Linked DNA regions of Homo sapiens: region 2 is linked to region 1. Evidence: promoter capture Hi-C in 16 types of primary human blood cells and fetal thymus (Javierre and others, 2016). All regions are on one chromosome and are shown on one strand. The core of a region is centred on a gene start or on the middle of the fragment in contact, and the rest is flanking DNA. Distances in the headings are between cores, read along the strand shown. Region 1 holds the start of FRY-AS1 (FRY antisense RNA 1). Region 2 has its middle 210 kb from the start of LINC02344.

The links. The method cuts DNA at HindIII sites, captures the fragments that hold promoters and counts their contacts. A CHiCAGO score of 5 or more calls a contact.
Region 2: a fragment that was not itself captured here is called in contact with the fragment with the promoter of FRY-AS1 in region 1 in 1 of 17 cell types (fetal thymus); the score reaches 10.1 in fetal thymus.

The regions. Positions count from the first base shown.
Region 1 is chr13:32,029,939-32,033,354 of GRCh38, reverse strand. It overlaps FRY-AS1 (FRY antisense RNA 1), which reads left to right and starts at 1,716. Exons shown (of 4, transcript NR_103839.1): 1 at 1,716-1,904. FRY (FRY microtubule binding protein) reads right to left here and starts at 1,581. Exons shown (of 61, transcript NM_023037.3): 1 at 1,490-1,581. The coding sequence starts at 1,559. The HindIII fragment of the contact is 3,062 bases long and covers 1-2,564 here.
Region 2 is chr13:33,542,660-33,546,438 of GRCh38, reverse strand. It overlaps a transcript of STARD13 not described here. Among named protein-coding and RNA genes, the nearest start is that of LINC02344, 210 kb to the right of the region's middle. RefSeq lists enhancers at 3,323-3,432, 3,533-3,632. The HindIII fragment of the contact is 1,343 bases long and covers 1,854-3,196 here.

The sequences.
Region 1 (3,416 bases), core at 467-2,966:
CGTACTGATGTCAACTCAAAAGTGAGTTTTTTCAGTTATTGGAAAACTGCTCCATAAAGAACACTGTATGTCAAATTCTTTTCATTAATCAAAGAGCAGATAGACAAAGGAAGATTCATCCTTGAGTGTAAAGTATTATAAAAATAATGAGTCCAAGTTAAATGATTTATAGCTATGACAAGTAAAGAATGCTGTTTGGGCAACAGTATTACTCCCAAATGGCTTCCCACTTGTAGAAAAACAGCTTCAGACAAGCCCCATAGTGTATACAGTGGTGCAAAATGACCTGGAAAAAATGGTTTCTATGGATATCATTTAGAGATGCACATCCCTGAATACCTTAAGGCTGAAGGTACTTTAGCTCTTTTCCTCAAAGCAATTGCAGCACAGGTTCTCCTGCCCAGGTTTTGTTTATATAAGAACAATCTTGGCCACAGGTCATTTGTGTAGGAGACAATTAATCACTAGCTCTTTGAGCACAGGTAGGTTAATCAGTATGCACATAATACAATATTAAAATTTTCACGGGGAAAAAATTTTTTTATTTAAAACAATAAAGCATCAGTAATACCTGCTGATCTTTTATCCAAAGCAAGTACAAAGGCTGTTAGTGAAATAGAGAAGACTTTCTTTTTAAACAGTTCGGAAAATACAAGGCATCATTGATCACCTGAAGGCCTCATTTTAATTTGATTCCAGATCCACGGCAGCTTAGAGGTTGTCTTTTTGAAATAGCGTATTGCTAAAATCCTTATGTAGGTCAGAAATGGAACTTCAGGAGCCATCATATTCTGCTATCCTAATAAATAATTAGGGTCAGAACCTCACTTGTTTATGTTTCAAAAAAGCACAATATTTGGACTATAGCAAACATCAGGATTTTTAAAAATTCAAATATTAAATGGCATTCAGAACATCATCCACATGGAAGAGGGAGAGATGAAATAAATCTGCAGATGCCTCTATATACAAAAAGGATGTCCTAGGTTTTGGACTATTAAATACTTTTCTTTCTTCAGACAATACCCTAAAAAAACAATTACAAAGTACTCTGAAACCCTGCCACACCCCTTTGATTAAATCACACTTCACAAAATATTTAGAGAAAGCCTGAACAAATCAAATAAACATCAAGGCAGGAAATGCAGCCAGGAATGCCTGATCCTGAGCTCCCCCAGAGTCTGAAGGGCTGCCTCACTTGAAAATTTAATCAAACACAATCTACTGTAATTCCATTGCAGCCTTTGCACTTAAGGAAAGCTAGTTCAGTCTCTGACATTTTGATTTTCACAGCAGATGGGAGCAAAAAAAGAAAGAAAGAAAGAAAGAAAAAGAAAGAAAGAAAGAAAGAAAGAGAAAAGAAAAGAAAAGAAAAAAAGAAAAACTTCCGCGGCTCACAAACATATGTGTCCAGTTGAGATTTTCTGTCTCCAGCCTTATGCAACATCCAGCAAACAAACAAACAAAAAGGTTATTTTCTATTACTCACTATTACTCCAGGATTTCAGTAAATATTTGATACTGATCTCAAAGAAGCCCGAATCCTGCTGGCTGGCCATGTCTGCGGCATACAAAGAGGCTGGGAGGACGGGCAGCGGCCGGGAGCAGGTACCGGGCGTGATGCGCCTGTCACAGGTTGTGATGTCAGCGCGGGGTCAGGCGCCCAGAGGCAGCTCTGCGGATCCACCTCCGGCTCCGGCCGGGAGTGCTCATCTAAAGGACACGGCGGAGCAGAGAGAGATGCTCGGCCGCTCCTCCTCCTCCGGGTCCAGGACTTGCTTCTTATTTGCTGGACGCTGATCTCCCTGCAGCCCTCGGAGGCGGCGGCCGCGCTGCTTTCATTTCGGGGCTGTCATCACCAGAAACGCCGGCTGCCGGCCGCCCACCAGCTCGGCTCCAGCCAGGTACGCAACCGAGGAAGACCCCACCTGAACTGGGATCGGCTTTCTTCTGGGAGGGAGGGTTTCTAGGCCGGCCTCCCTGACGCGGTGCAGGCAGCCTCCGGCCCACACGGCCGCCGCGGGGCTAAGGGATGGGCCGGGAGCGCCGCCCCCTGCCCCTGCCCACTGTCTCAACCTGAGCCGCGGCTCAGTCTCCGCCTAGGCTGCGGGAGGAATTTCCCAGCTTCTGCGGATCCTCTCTCTTCAGCAAGGCTTCCCGTGAGCGGCCCGGGTGTGCTCTGGCTGCTGCTTCCCCTTGTGTCTGTCCCTGAAATAAACACAACTGCAGCACGCTGCGGTAAGCAAAGCTGCAGCCTTGCATCTGGTTGCAGCGACGTTTTGAAAAACCCCATCCGTCAGCCTCGTTGCAGTAAAGAGACTCAACAAGAGGACGCTTGTCTGGGCTTTTTCTTCCCTGCCTTCCACACGCATGGTGGTATCTGCATTTTTACTTTTCCCTCCCAGAAATGCAGTCTTTTCAAGGGGCATCGGAGCCCGAACGTGTGCACTCTAAGGGGACAGTACACACTGCTTAGTTGGCTTGTTTTTGTAATGTCACACACTCCACAATGGATCTTATTCTCAAACCTCTCATTTCTAAGACTCACTAAGCCCAGTGAAGCTTATTTTATTTGTATGAAAAGGATAAGAAGCAAAAGCATTAGATTCCTTGCTCTACAATGGCTCTTGATTTCATGAATTCTTGATATCAGGTGTCCTGATTTTGGTTAGCTTTGTTTCACATTATCATTTAGCTTGACCAGGGGATTAAATAAGAGTATTATATTTTAATAATGACAGGTTATGTTGGAAGAGGTGGGATTTGGCCAACTATCTCATAAACCACAGGATCCTTCCCAAGTCCCAGTACATTCATGATTAATGTTGTCTAAAAAACAGAAAAAAGTAATAAACCATGTTAATAAGTATTTAACATAGCAAATGTTGGGCTAACTCCCCAAATCAACACACAAACAGGACTTCCTAGATTAACAGTTCATTTTAAAAATGGAAGGGAAAGACTACAATGTACTTTTATTGTTAGGACAAAGAATTTTTAAAATTCAACACTAAATAAAACTTCTAGAACTATGTTCTGAAAGGCCCTAAGATACTTCATCAATACAATTAGTTTTTCAAACTCATTACACTTACCCAAATGGCAAGCACTCAATCACTCAGATTTCCAACTCCACTTATACACTTTATTCTGATGAAATCTCTCACCAGATTGACTTCTTTTTAATTCATGTGCATACTAGAGTTGCTGAACTGATTTTATCACTTGTACTTTGAATGTATGGATTCTAGGTAAAATAAGACCCAAAGGTTTTACCTTGAAACAATTATTATATCTGAAAATAAATTTCATACCTACGCCCATCTGATGCTTGCCAAGACTCAGATGGCAGTGAATGAACAGGTAGGCTGCACAGTGCCCTGCGATTAACGATGGCATGGGCTCTCAAGGCAGGG
Region 2 (3,779 bases), core at 1,276-3,775, 1.5 Mb before region 1:
GGCCCAATAGTTAGTCAAAATGTGACTATTAGTACTATTAGGCTAAAATTAAAAGTATTAATAAGTCTATTGATTATAGCAAATAAACCGCCAAAAAGCTCTAACAACTAAGACCCCTTTAACAGCTGAATCAACTTAATTCTTCTTAGACAAATGCTTTTTGCCACAAATATTCATTATACATCCATTTACATATTATGTTCTTAGAAAATAAGAGAAAAAAATCAGAAAAGGAGGCTTCCACATAATAATAGGAATTATTTTTGAAAGAAAATCTGACGTGGGAATCCTAATCTAATTACTGTATCAAAGTCAACCAATTCTTGGTTGAAAGTAAACTACAGTATCATTTCATAAGAGTGTTTACTGATGAAATTAGCCAGGATAAATTGTAATGTTAACAGCCATAATAAATAAATGTCATAAAATACTAATTACTTTTAGTCAACAAAATAAGGTTATTTAACAACTGTCTTAGTCCATTTATTTTTCTATAAAGGAATACCTGAGGCTGGGTAATTTATGAAGAAAAGAGGTTTACTTGGCTCACAGTTCTGTAGGCTGTACAAGAAGCATGGTACCAGCAGCTATTTCTGGTGAGGGCCTCAGGCTGTTTCCACTTGTGGGTGAAGGTGAAGGAGAACCAGCATGTGCAGAGATCACATGGTAAGCGAGGAAGCAAGACAAAGCAGCAAGAAAATCGATAGGAGGGAGGTGCCAGGCTCTTAACAACCAGCTCTGACAGCAACTAATAGAAAACTCACTCATTATCACTAGGAGGGCATCAAGCCCTGTGTCAGGGATCCACCCCCATGTCTGAAAACATCTCCCATTAAGCCCCACCTCCAACACTGGGGATCAAATTTCAACGTGAGATTTGGAGGGATCCAACAAACCAAATGATAGCAATAATGCTCCCAAAATACAGCAGGTATATGAAATATAGCATTACTAATGAAGTGTCCTTTACATCTTCTCTGCCTGCTTCATTAGTGAATTTATTACAATAAAGTTTAAAATAAGGCAAAGAACATTCACCTTTCGGGCCAGGCACAGTGGCTCACGCCTGTAATCCCAGCACTTTGGGAAGCCGAGGCAGGCGGATCACGAGGTCAGGAGATCGAGATCATCCTGGCTAACACGGTGAAACCCCGTCTCTACTAAAAATACAAAAAATTAGGCCAGGCGCGGTGGCTCACACCTGTAATCCCAGCACTTTGAGAGGCCAAGGCGGGTGGATCACCTGAGGTCAGGAATTCGAGACCAGCCTGACCAACATGGAGAAAACTGATCTCTACTAAGGAAAATACAAAATTTTAGCCAGGCATGGTGGCACATGCCTGTAATCCCAGCTACTCAGGAAGGCTGAGGCAGAAGACTCACTTGAACCTGGGAGCAGAGGTTGTGATGAGCTGAGATCGCACCATTGCACCCCAGCCTGGGCAACAAGAGCAAAACCCCGTCTCAAATAAATAAATAAATAAATAAAACAAAAAAATTAGCCAGGTGTGGTGGCACACGCCTGTAGTCCCAGCTACTCAGGAGGTTGAGGCAGGAGAATCGCTTGAACCCGGGAGGCAGAGATTGCAGTGAGCTGAAATCTGGCCACTGCACTCCAGCCTGGGCGACAGAGCAAGCCTCCATCTCAAAAAAAAAAAAAAAAAAAAAGAGAAAAAACAACAAAAAAACAAAACCATGCACCTTTCCCTGATTTAAATGATTCATCAGTAATTATCCAAATACATGGTACTAGCCTATTAGGGAAATACCATGGTTTTAAGACAGTTGTTCTCAATCTTTTTTTTCTTCTTTTCACGAAGGCCCATTCAGGCTAGAGCAGAGAGGGGGAAGCTTACATCCAGTAAACAAAATAGCAGTGATTTAAATAAAACTGAGACCAGAAAACCGACTGCTTTCTACATTTTAGGAACTGATTATCATAAACATAAACTTATCTAACAATATCTGTATTTCTATTTGTAGCAAGCACAAAAGTTACAGTGTGCAGCACACTTTAATCACTGCGTGATTTAATTACTGTGTCAATAAAGGCAGTGGCACAGTCAGAATTTGACAGAATTGAGAAAAGTCCTGCTGAAAAGATGAGACAAGTTCTGAGATGATCATTTTTTATAATGTAAGCACTGTGTACATTTATAAATGGCACGGTAGGGATGGGAGTGGGCTGGGGGTAGAGAATTCCGTAAAACAAGGGAACTTGAGGAAATGCAAAAGACTGAAAAAAACCTGGCATCTTCCAAAGGGTAAAATTAGTATGATTGTTTAAACTATTTTGTCCTTAATTTTAGTCATTTCTAATTTAACAGCTAAAGAACAATTACTGTATAATAACTGAAATATTTAGTATACTTGGTATTACAGCACCCTCTATCACATGATCATATACAGAATACATTTCTATGAACTGGTTGCTTTAATCTGTGAACATTTATGTAGCTCTCTACTGGTTCTAGGGTTTAGTTTACTACTTCCCATCCACGGAGTCAAAAGGACTACTAACTTGTGCAGGCTTAGTATCACCAGTATATTTTAGTACCGTCTGTCCTGCAACAGCAAAAAGCATTATTGACAAAGCAATCCTGAACTCTAAATTATTCCAGGTGTGGTCCTAGTACCAACAGCATCAGAATCACCTGAGATTTTACTAGAGCTACACTAATCCAGCTGTATCCTCAGACCTTCCCTCCCAGTTATAACCTCTGGTGTTGAGGCCCAGCAATCTGTTTTAACAAGCCTTCTAGAGAATCTGGATGCATGCTCCAGTTTGAGAAGCATTACTATAGGAGAAATACAATCAAAGAGTCAAGTTAACATGTGCTATCTAAACTCTAAAGGAAATTTGTTTCATTATATATTTTGATATCCACAGCACCATTCCAATAAAACATTTAGAACAACTCTGTTAGTACTCCAAGATTACAGGAAAAAAAGAACATTATTAAAGGAAAATGTGTTGATTTTACTAACTTTGGGGAAATTACTTTTCCTTTCTCTGATTATCTAAAAGAAACGTGACATGCAAACGAATCTACATTGAGCATTTCTGAGGCTACCTTTCTGAAACTTCCATGGCCTATTTTAAAGCAAATTACTACATTCTGCTTCTCGATGGGTTCCTAACATACACAGCAGGCTTTTACAACAGCGCTTTAATAGGCCAAAGGAAACAAAAGCTTTTACAGCAGAGGCCAATGTAAGCCACAAAGCTCGTGTCATCTTCCTACCAGGCAATTAATACAGGGTCCCAGTCCTCAAAGATTAAAGAACTGATACGGGGAAGACTGAGAATGACCCAGCAACAACGCATAAGGAAGCAAAAAATAAAAGGACGCCGTTTCTTCTGGACTTAAAACTAGAGAAAGAACAGTTTCCGCTCCATTTTGGGTTTGTAAAGCTCCTCCTACAGGCAGCTTCCGCTTCAGAGTCGCCACAAAGTCCCTCCCGCGCGGGAACTCGGCGGGGCGGAGACTCGGGTCCCTCCCCGTCCAGGGCGGGAGAAAGGAAAGCAGGGGCCACGGTTTCTCTGGAAGGTTCCGAGAGAAGGGCGCGTGCCACCTCCGCGGGTGGCGGGAGACTCGGCACCAGATGGCGCTGCCGCACCGAGAGCCAGAGCCTGGGCCGCTGGGGAGACGGGAAGAGGCGTCACCGGATCCCTTCCTTTGCGCTCGTTGCCGGAAATGTGCGCTGCAACCAGCCTCTGGTCCCGGATATTAAGACTTCTGGAGGGTTCCCGCGTGAGGGCGGGGCCAGAACCGGAA